Regions from separate parts of the Homo sapiens genome. Here region 2 is linked to region 1. Evidence: promoter capture Hi-C in human tissues and cell types (Jung and others, 2019). All regions are on one chromosome and are shown on one strand. Each heading gives the region's core, a stretch centred on a gene start or on the middle of the fragment in contact. The rest is flanking DNA. Distances are from core to core; before and after follow the strand shown.

The links. The method cuts DNA at HindIII sites, captures the fragments that hold promoters and counts their contacts. A contact is called where the count stands out against the background at its distance.
Region 2: a fragment that was not itself captured here is called in contact with the fragment with the promoter of SHB in region 1 in 3 of the 25 tissues and cell types used here (liver, lymphoblastoid cells and pancreas).

The regions. Positions count from the first base shown.
Region 1 is chr9:38,067,054-38,070,801 of GRCh38, reverse strand. SHB (SH2 domain containing adaptor protein B) reads left to right here and starts at 1,575. Exons shown (of 6, transcript NM_003028.3): 1 at 1,575-2,873. The coding sequence starts at 2,157. RefSeq lists silencers at 1,165-1,974, 2,395-2,444 and an enhancer at 2,335-3,138. The HindIII fragment of the contact is 6,868 bases long and covers 1-3,748 here.
Region 2 is chr9:38,297,169-38,300,916 of GRCh38, reverse strand. No RefSeq gene overlaps it. Among named protein-coding and RNA genes, the nearest start is that of ALDH1B1, 94 kb to the left of the region's middle. The HindIII fragment of the contact is 5,577 bases long and covers 1-3,748 here.

The sequences.
Region 1 (3,748 bases), core at 326-2,825:
TAACAGACAGACAGCAAATGCAGATTATTGATTTGGGCTATTGTTTTAGTAAATCAACATTCTTAGAGAATTTCTCAGCTCTCAGGTGCCCACATCTTAGAGTTAAGTCACATTTTGAGGGTTGCCCAGGCAAATTCAAAGCAGCACCAGGCCCTAGTGGCAGCTACTTCATCTTTAGGCAGCATTTCCCTCTCAACAGGGAGCATGCCACCTCCCCTGGGTGCAGATCCCAGGAAAAGTTACACTGACCAAATCAGGCCACTCCCTGGGACTGTTTCCTCAATTTTGGTTAATAATCAAAGGATGATCTGAAATCGCAAAGAAGAGACTCTTGGAAAAGACATAATTATGGTGCCACCCGACTTAGGAACTGGCATCCAAGTCCACCTGTGTGACTTTCCTCTGGGCCTCAGTTTCTCCATCTGTAAAATGAGGTCCTGTATTTATTTTTTGAGACGGAATCTCCCTCTGTCGCCCAGGCTGGAGTGAAGTGGTGTGATCTCGGCTCACTGCAACCTCTGCCTCCCAGGTTCAAGCAATTCTCTGCCTCAGCCTTCCGAGTAGCTGCTGGGATTACAGGTACCCGCCACCACACCCGGCTAATTTTTGTATTTTTAGTAGAGACGGGGTTTCACCATCTTGGCCAGGCTGGTATTAAACTCCTGACCTCGTGATCCACCCGCCTCGGCCTCCCAAAGTGCTGGGATTACAGGCGTGAGACACCGCACCCGGCCGAGGTCCTGTATTAAATGGATCCTTGCCAGCTCCTACAACATAAGGCATTAAATGTTCCCACAACTTGCTCCCCGCCGGCTGGCAGCGAACAGGGCTAAAGCCTCGACTTCCTCAGAGGTGAAAAGGTAAGCAAACATTCCGACCTCCCCTAGCCTTGCTCTCGGATTGGTGCTGGGCCCGGCTCCCACCGCCTATCCCGACCACATCCGTCATCTGGACTGCTAATACACTCATTAGCATAAAGATTCCTCCGAAGACCTGGCGCACGGGGCTGAACCGGAGTCTGTCCCTTTAAGGAAGAGGGACAGCCACTCTGTCCCTAAGGGCACTAGGCACTGCATTTCCTCCACACGGGCCACGCTGTAAACTAGACAGGTTCCGTGTTAATCCACTCTCCCTCCTCAACCCCGACAGGGGGATCCCTGGAGTGAACAACGCGCGGGGTCCCGGGGGACTGCGGAAAGGTTTGGCCTCTGCGCGTAGCAGGCTCCGCCAGGCAACCTCTCGCCCGAGGCGGCGGCGAGCTGCAAGCTAGGTGGAGCCGGCTGCGCGGCGGGACCCCAGCGCCCTGGGGCAAGACCCTGGTGCTGGCGCCAGGGCAGCCGCGGGAGGTGGCGTGTGCAGGAGCGGAGAGGTGCGCCCACCCCGGCCCCGGGCGCGAGGGGGGCGGGGCTTGGGCCGCGGCCCGGGGCCAGGCTCGCGGGGATGGGCGGTGCTGGGTCTGCGGGAGCGGGCGGGGGGCGGGGCGCGCGAGCGGGCTCCGGGGGGGCGGGGCGGCGGCGCGGGGCGGGCTCTGGCGGCCTGAGTGTCACACACGCGGCGGCTCGGGAGGCGGCGGCAGTGGCAGCGACAGGCGCCGCCGGGACGGGCACGGGCGCGCGGGCTCCGGCGGGCGCCGGCTGCCTTCCTCCGTCGCTCGCTGTCTCTCCCGGCCGCATTCTCCTCCGCTGCGGGGCCGAGCTCTCCCCAGCGCTCGCAGGAAGGAAGAAGGGAGCCGAGGACGCCGAGAAGTTCCCGCGGCAGCCGCGGATCCCGGCCAAGGCGGAGGCTGCGGCTCCGACGGGGCAGGAGCGCGATCCACGGCGAGGGGCGTACGGCCAAAGGGTCCGCGGCGTGGAGCGCTCGGACCTTCCGCTCTCCCCCGGGCGTGGGCCGGGACCCCATGAGACGCGCCCACGAGGGGCGCGAGATTCCTAGCTTGGGCGGCGCTAGGCGGAGGGAGGTGTTGCAGCCGCCGGAGCCAGAGAGCTGCCGGCAGGAGGCGGCGGCGGCAAGAACTTGAACTTGGCGTCGGGAGCGGGCGCCCCGGACGCCCCCCGCCGGGGCCGGGGCGCCGAGGGACCTGCGCCGCAGCGCTGCCCCCCGAATGGCCGCGGCGGCGGACCGGGCTCCCGCGCCGCGGCCCTAGGCGGCCTCTCGCCATGGCCAAGTGGCTAAACAAGTACTTCAGCTTGGGCAACAGCAAGACCAAGAGCCCCCCGCAGCCGCCGCGGCCAGACTACCGCGAGCAGCGGCGCCGAGGCGAGCGGCCTTCGCAGCCCCCCCAGGCCGTGCCGCAGGCCTCCTCCGCCGCCTCGGCGTCCTGCGGTCCGGCCACCGCCTCCTGCTTCTCAGCCTCTTCGGGCTCGCTGCCCGACGACAGCGGCAGCACCAGCGACCTCATCCGCGCCTACCGCGCGCAGAAGGAGCGAGACTTCGAGGACCCCTACAACGGGCCTGGCTCGTCGCTGCGCAAACTGCGCGCCATGTGCCGCCTGGACTACTGCGGCGGCAGCGGGGAGCCAGGCGGGGTCCAGCGCGCCTTCTCGGCCTCGTCCGCGTCGGGCGCCGCGGGCTGTTGCTGCGCCTCCTCGGGCGCGGGGGCCGCCGCGTCCTCGTCCTCGTCCTCCGGCTCTCCGCATCTCTACCGCAGCAGCAGCGAGCGGCGGCCCGCCACGCCGGCCGAGGTGCGCTACATCTCCCCCAAGCACCGCCTCATCAAAGTGGAGAGCGCCGCGGGCGGTGGGGCCGGGGACCCCCTGGGGGGCGCCTGCGCGGGCGGCCGCACCTGGAGCCCGACGGCCTGCGGAGGCAAGAAACTGCTCAACAAGTGCGCCGCCTCAGCCGCGGAGGAGAGCGGGGCCGGCAAGAAGGACAAGGTAAGGTGCCCCTTGGCCTCTTCCCGAGGTTCCAGAGCCACGGTGCGCACGGGGAAACCGAGGCACCCGCCGCTCTGGTGTTGAGTCTCTACTTCAGCTTCGGCCTAGGACCCTGGGTCGGGGCTGGCGTGCTGCTTCCCGCTTCTGCCTCCTCCCGCGCCCTTTTCCTGGGACCGGCGGCCTCCTGACCCCACCTCTTTCGCCGCTGCTTCCAGAACGTCCCCTCTGAGCGAGAGCGCCCGGCCCAGCCTTGCCCCAGGAAGACGGACCCAGTCAGTCCTTCTGGCTGCCAAGGAGTAAAGTCAGAGTCAGAGCTGTCTAGGACTTCGAAGAGCTTTGACTCCTGACACCCCTTATCCCAGCCTCCACCCTCCGCTCACGCTGTAGGTGGGAAACTGAGGTCCAGAGCAAGGAAGGGACTCGCCCAATATTACACAGCTTTCTTGGTGGCAGATCCGGACCGGCTGTCTCCAGCGTGTATATGTAAATCTCTCGCGGCTGCCCTGCCCGGCCCTGCCCTGCCCCACCCCCAGCTCTAGGTTTCCAAATCCGGGCTGCCTGGTACCGGAGCTGCTCCGGGAACCTCCACGCGTGCTTTTCCGGTTGAAATGCGCTGCCTGCAAGAGCGCTCCTCATCGAACCCGTCAGTTCCTCCCGCTGCGCGCGGGAGGGGGTCAGCCTATCAGGCCCGGCTGGAAGGAGACCCCACCCCTCCTATCCTCACCTGCTTCCTTCCTGACCTCACCCCTACCCCATAAGGTCCCAGGAACACGGGGGGACTTTGTGACAGCCCCCTTCCTAACGCATTAGGCCACCTAGATTCCTCCCTTTGAAGCAGACGAGTTAATTACAGCCAGACTAGGTCCCCTCCTCCC
Region 2 (3,748 bases), core at 612-3,111, 230 kb before region 1:
AGCTTTTTAAAAATCAGCTTTGCTGAGAAATAATAATTTACATACAATAAAATTTAGCAATTTTATTTCTACAATCTAGTTTCACTGAAATTTTTTTGAGATAATTGTAATTAAATTACAATTATCACTGAAAAATTTCACTGAAATTTTTTTGAGATAATTGTAAAAATTGTCTTACACATGCAGTTGTAAGAAATATTACAGAGAGATCCTATATACCCTTAACCAGTTTTCCCCTAGTTGTAGCACTAATGATCCACTAATGATTGTGATAATACAACATCATAACCTGGATATTGACATTGATAACACCCCACTGATCTTGTGTAGTTTTCCCTGATACTCACTTGTATGTGTATATTTAGTTCTATACAATGTCATCACATGTGTAGGTTGGTGTATTTATACCATAGTCAAGATACTGAAGAGTTCTATCGCTACAAGGACCCCTCATGCTGTCCTTTTATAACTACACCCATACTCCCCCCAGCATACACACACTGAGTTTTCACAAATGTACACAGTTATATAATCATCTTCACAACTTTAATAAAAATATTTCTAACCCAGAAAGTTCCCTTACACCCTTTGCAATCAATTTACTCTCTCTCATTCTGCACCCTAGGCAACCACTGATCTGCCTTCTATAACTGTAGTTTTACCTTTTCTAGAATTTCATGTAAATTTAGTCAACATAATGCTTTTGACATTCACTCACGTTGTTGCAAGTATCAGTAGTTCATTCCTTTTATTGCTGAATAATAAAAAGAATGGATATATCACATCTTACGTATCTCTTCATCAGTTCACAGATGTTTAGCTTATTTTTAGCTCTTCGTCATTATGAACAAAGCTATAAATATTCAAGTCCTCTTGTGAACATGATTTCATTTCTCTTGGCCCAGTAGTATGATTGCTCTATGGTAAGCATATATTTCATTGTGGATAGTTTCTAAGGCTATAGCTTCAAGTTCACTGATTTTTCCTTCTTCAGAATCTAATCTCATATTACTACCATCTGTGTGTATGTGTTTCATTTCAGATATTATATTTTTCACTTCAAGAAATTCCATTTGGAGCTTAAATTTTACAAACTTCCATTTCACTCTTCATCCTGGTCATTTTCCTCTACCTTCTTGACCCTGTGAGTCATAATAGCTGTTTTAATGTTCTTGTCTTCTAATTCTATAATTTCTATTACTTATTGGTTTGTTTCTACTAATTAGTTTTCCATCCGGTTGTAACCCACATTTTCCTATTTCTGTGCTTGCTGCCCAAGGGAGCACTTCGGTGCTGGATATTGCAAATTTTACCTTGTTGGTTGCTGAATTTTATTATATCCCTTTAAATACCATTGGACTTTGTTCTGGAGCATGAATCAATTGTATCCTTTTGAGGGTGACAGAGCAGCTTTTAGGGTAGGGTTAATTTGGCCTCACTAATAAGGCTGAGAATCCTACTCAGTATCCCGCGTGGTAGGAGGTCTTTCCACTTGAGTTGGGGAGAACATGAAAAATTCTCAGCTCTGTGTGAGCTCCAGGAACTATTCTGGAGACTCCTTGGCTGGAAACAGACATATTTGTTTAGGATTTTAAAGCACCACATTAAATGCAGAAACTGTAAAGTAAAAGAGTGATACATTTGACAACATAAAAATCTAAAACCTCTTCCTTGGGTTTCCTCTAGAATTCACTTCACTTCAGCTGTTGTTTCTAATTGATTTGAGGCCGGTTGGTAGAAGGAGAGTAACTGTGGGTGCAGAGGAGGCCCAGGGCCTGGGTCTGGGGCCAGGTCTGCCTCTCACTGTGTGACTTCAGTCCCCTCTGAACTTCAGTCTTCTGACCTGGAAAATAGGGGACTGGATAAGCTGTTCCCGGAAGTACTTCCAGTCCTGATACAGCCCACCCACCAACCAGGTAGTATCCATTTCTTGCTCATCTCTTTGCCTCCGTGATATCCAACTCTCAGGGACTGCACTCCACCCCAAAGCAGCCTTCTTAGTCCTTTTTCCCTTTTTAAATATAATTTAGTTTTTATTTGATTTATGGACTCAGTCCCAGTCACTAAACTTCATTCAGCTTGGATGCCTTATTGATTTTCAATAACAGTAGAGCAGAAAAATAAAGAGATGACAGCAGCACTTGGCTGCAGACCCAGGGCCGGCCATGGGAGGCAGGAATTAATCATCTCAGGGGTGATCACTCAGGCTGTCCCTGGCAGGGCAGCAACTCAGGGAGCTCAGCCAGCCTGGGACAGCGCAGCAAGCCACGCGATGATCGTCTGCTTGTGACAACAAGAGCTCAGCAGACTGTCCCATCTGGGTTCTAATCCCAGCATTACTGGAGGTAAGTATTTGCTCACCTCTAGAGACAAGGAGCTAGAGGGAAGCTGCACTATTTGGATCGACAGGGAGGAGGAGATGGCCATGTACAAAAGTGCCAACATTAAGTAAGTAAATGCAAAGACAAACTGGTGATAAAAGATGAAAGGGATGTCGAGGTCCTGGCTATGTATGTTGATTTCAGCATGGCTTCTCCTGGCTGCCTGCAGCAGCTAAAATCAGTTAAGACTGATCTATGGCTTCCCTAAAGAAGTGCACCAAGCTTTCTTTGGCCTCTCAGGTTCCAATTTGGCGTGGCCAGATCCTGACTGTGTGACTTTGGGCTGGTCACCTTATTGCCCTAATGTTTTACTACAAATGCATTTAAGGAGATGTCAAGGGGATTTTCAAAAGGAATTAATGCACTTCAGTATGGCTTCTCCTGGCTGCCTGCAGCAGGTAGAAACAGCAAGACTGATCTATGACTTCCCTAAAGAAGTGCACCAAGCTTTCTTTGGCCTCTAGACCTTTGCATGTGTTGTTCTCTAGATGATAATCCAGCCCTCCCTTTGCCTGGCCAATTCTTGCTTCTCCTTCAGGTCTCAGCTTACTTGTTGCCTCCTCTGGGAAGCCTTTCCTGATTCCCCCGCCCCACACTACCTCTGGCTAGGTACCCCTACCCTGTGCTCTCGCAGGTTCCTATGCTGACCCTGTTATGACATTCATCACACTGCATTACAAGGGTTACATCAACAGTGTAATAGCTCATTGTTACAGCAATAACAATGGTCTGTTTTCTTAACTGCTGCCCCTTCTTAATTCCCACTCTGCCAGGGCAGGGACTGTGCCTACTTTGTTCACTCAGCATGTGGTATATAAGAGGTAGTCAACAAATATTTGCTGAATAGATGATAGTTGAAAAGAATGATTTTCAACATTATTCGGTGATTAAAAAAATACTTATGGAGCACCAGCTCCACACCTCCTGTAAGTAGGTATTGAAGTCATTAATTCCCTTTTAAAATCCCCTTGACATCTCCTTAAATGTGTGTGTAATAAAACACCAGAGCAATAAGGTAACCAGCCCAAAGTCACACAGCCGGGATCCGGCCAGGCCAAATTGGAACCTGAGTCTGCAAATTCCTAATCCCAGTTCTGCCTCTTTCCTACCAGTGGAACTTGGCTGGTCTCTTCTATCCCAAAGACCCCACAGTTTTCTTTTCTTCATGACGAGAGGGTCATGCCAGATCAGTTCTTGACCTTTGAGAATTGATGAAAGCAATGAACTGTAACCCCTTTGTGTGTGCTGGAAATGCACACATGCACAGAAACGTTTACACATAATTTCATGGGTTCACAGACCCCATAAAACCCAGCCACAGATTAAGAGGCCCTAAACTCCCCAAAGGCCTTGCCAGCTCTCATAGT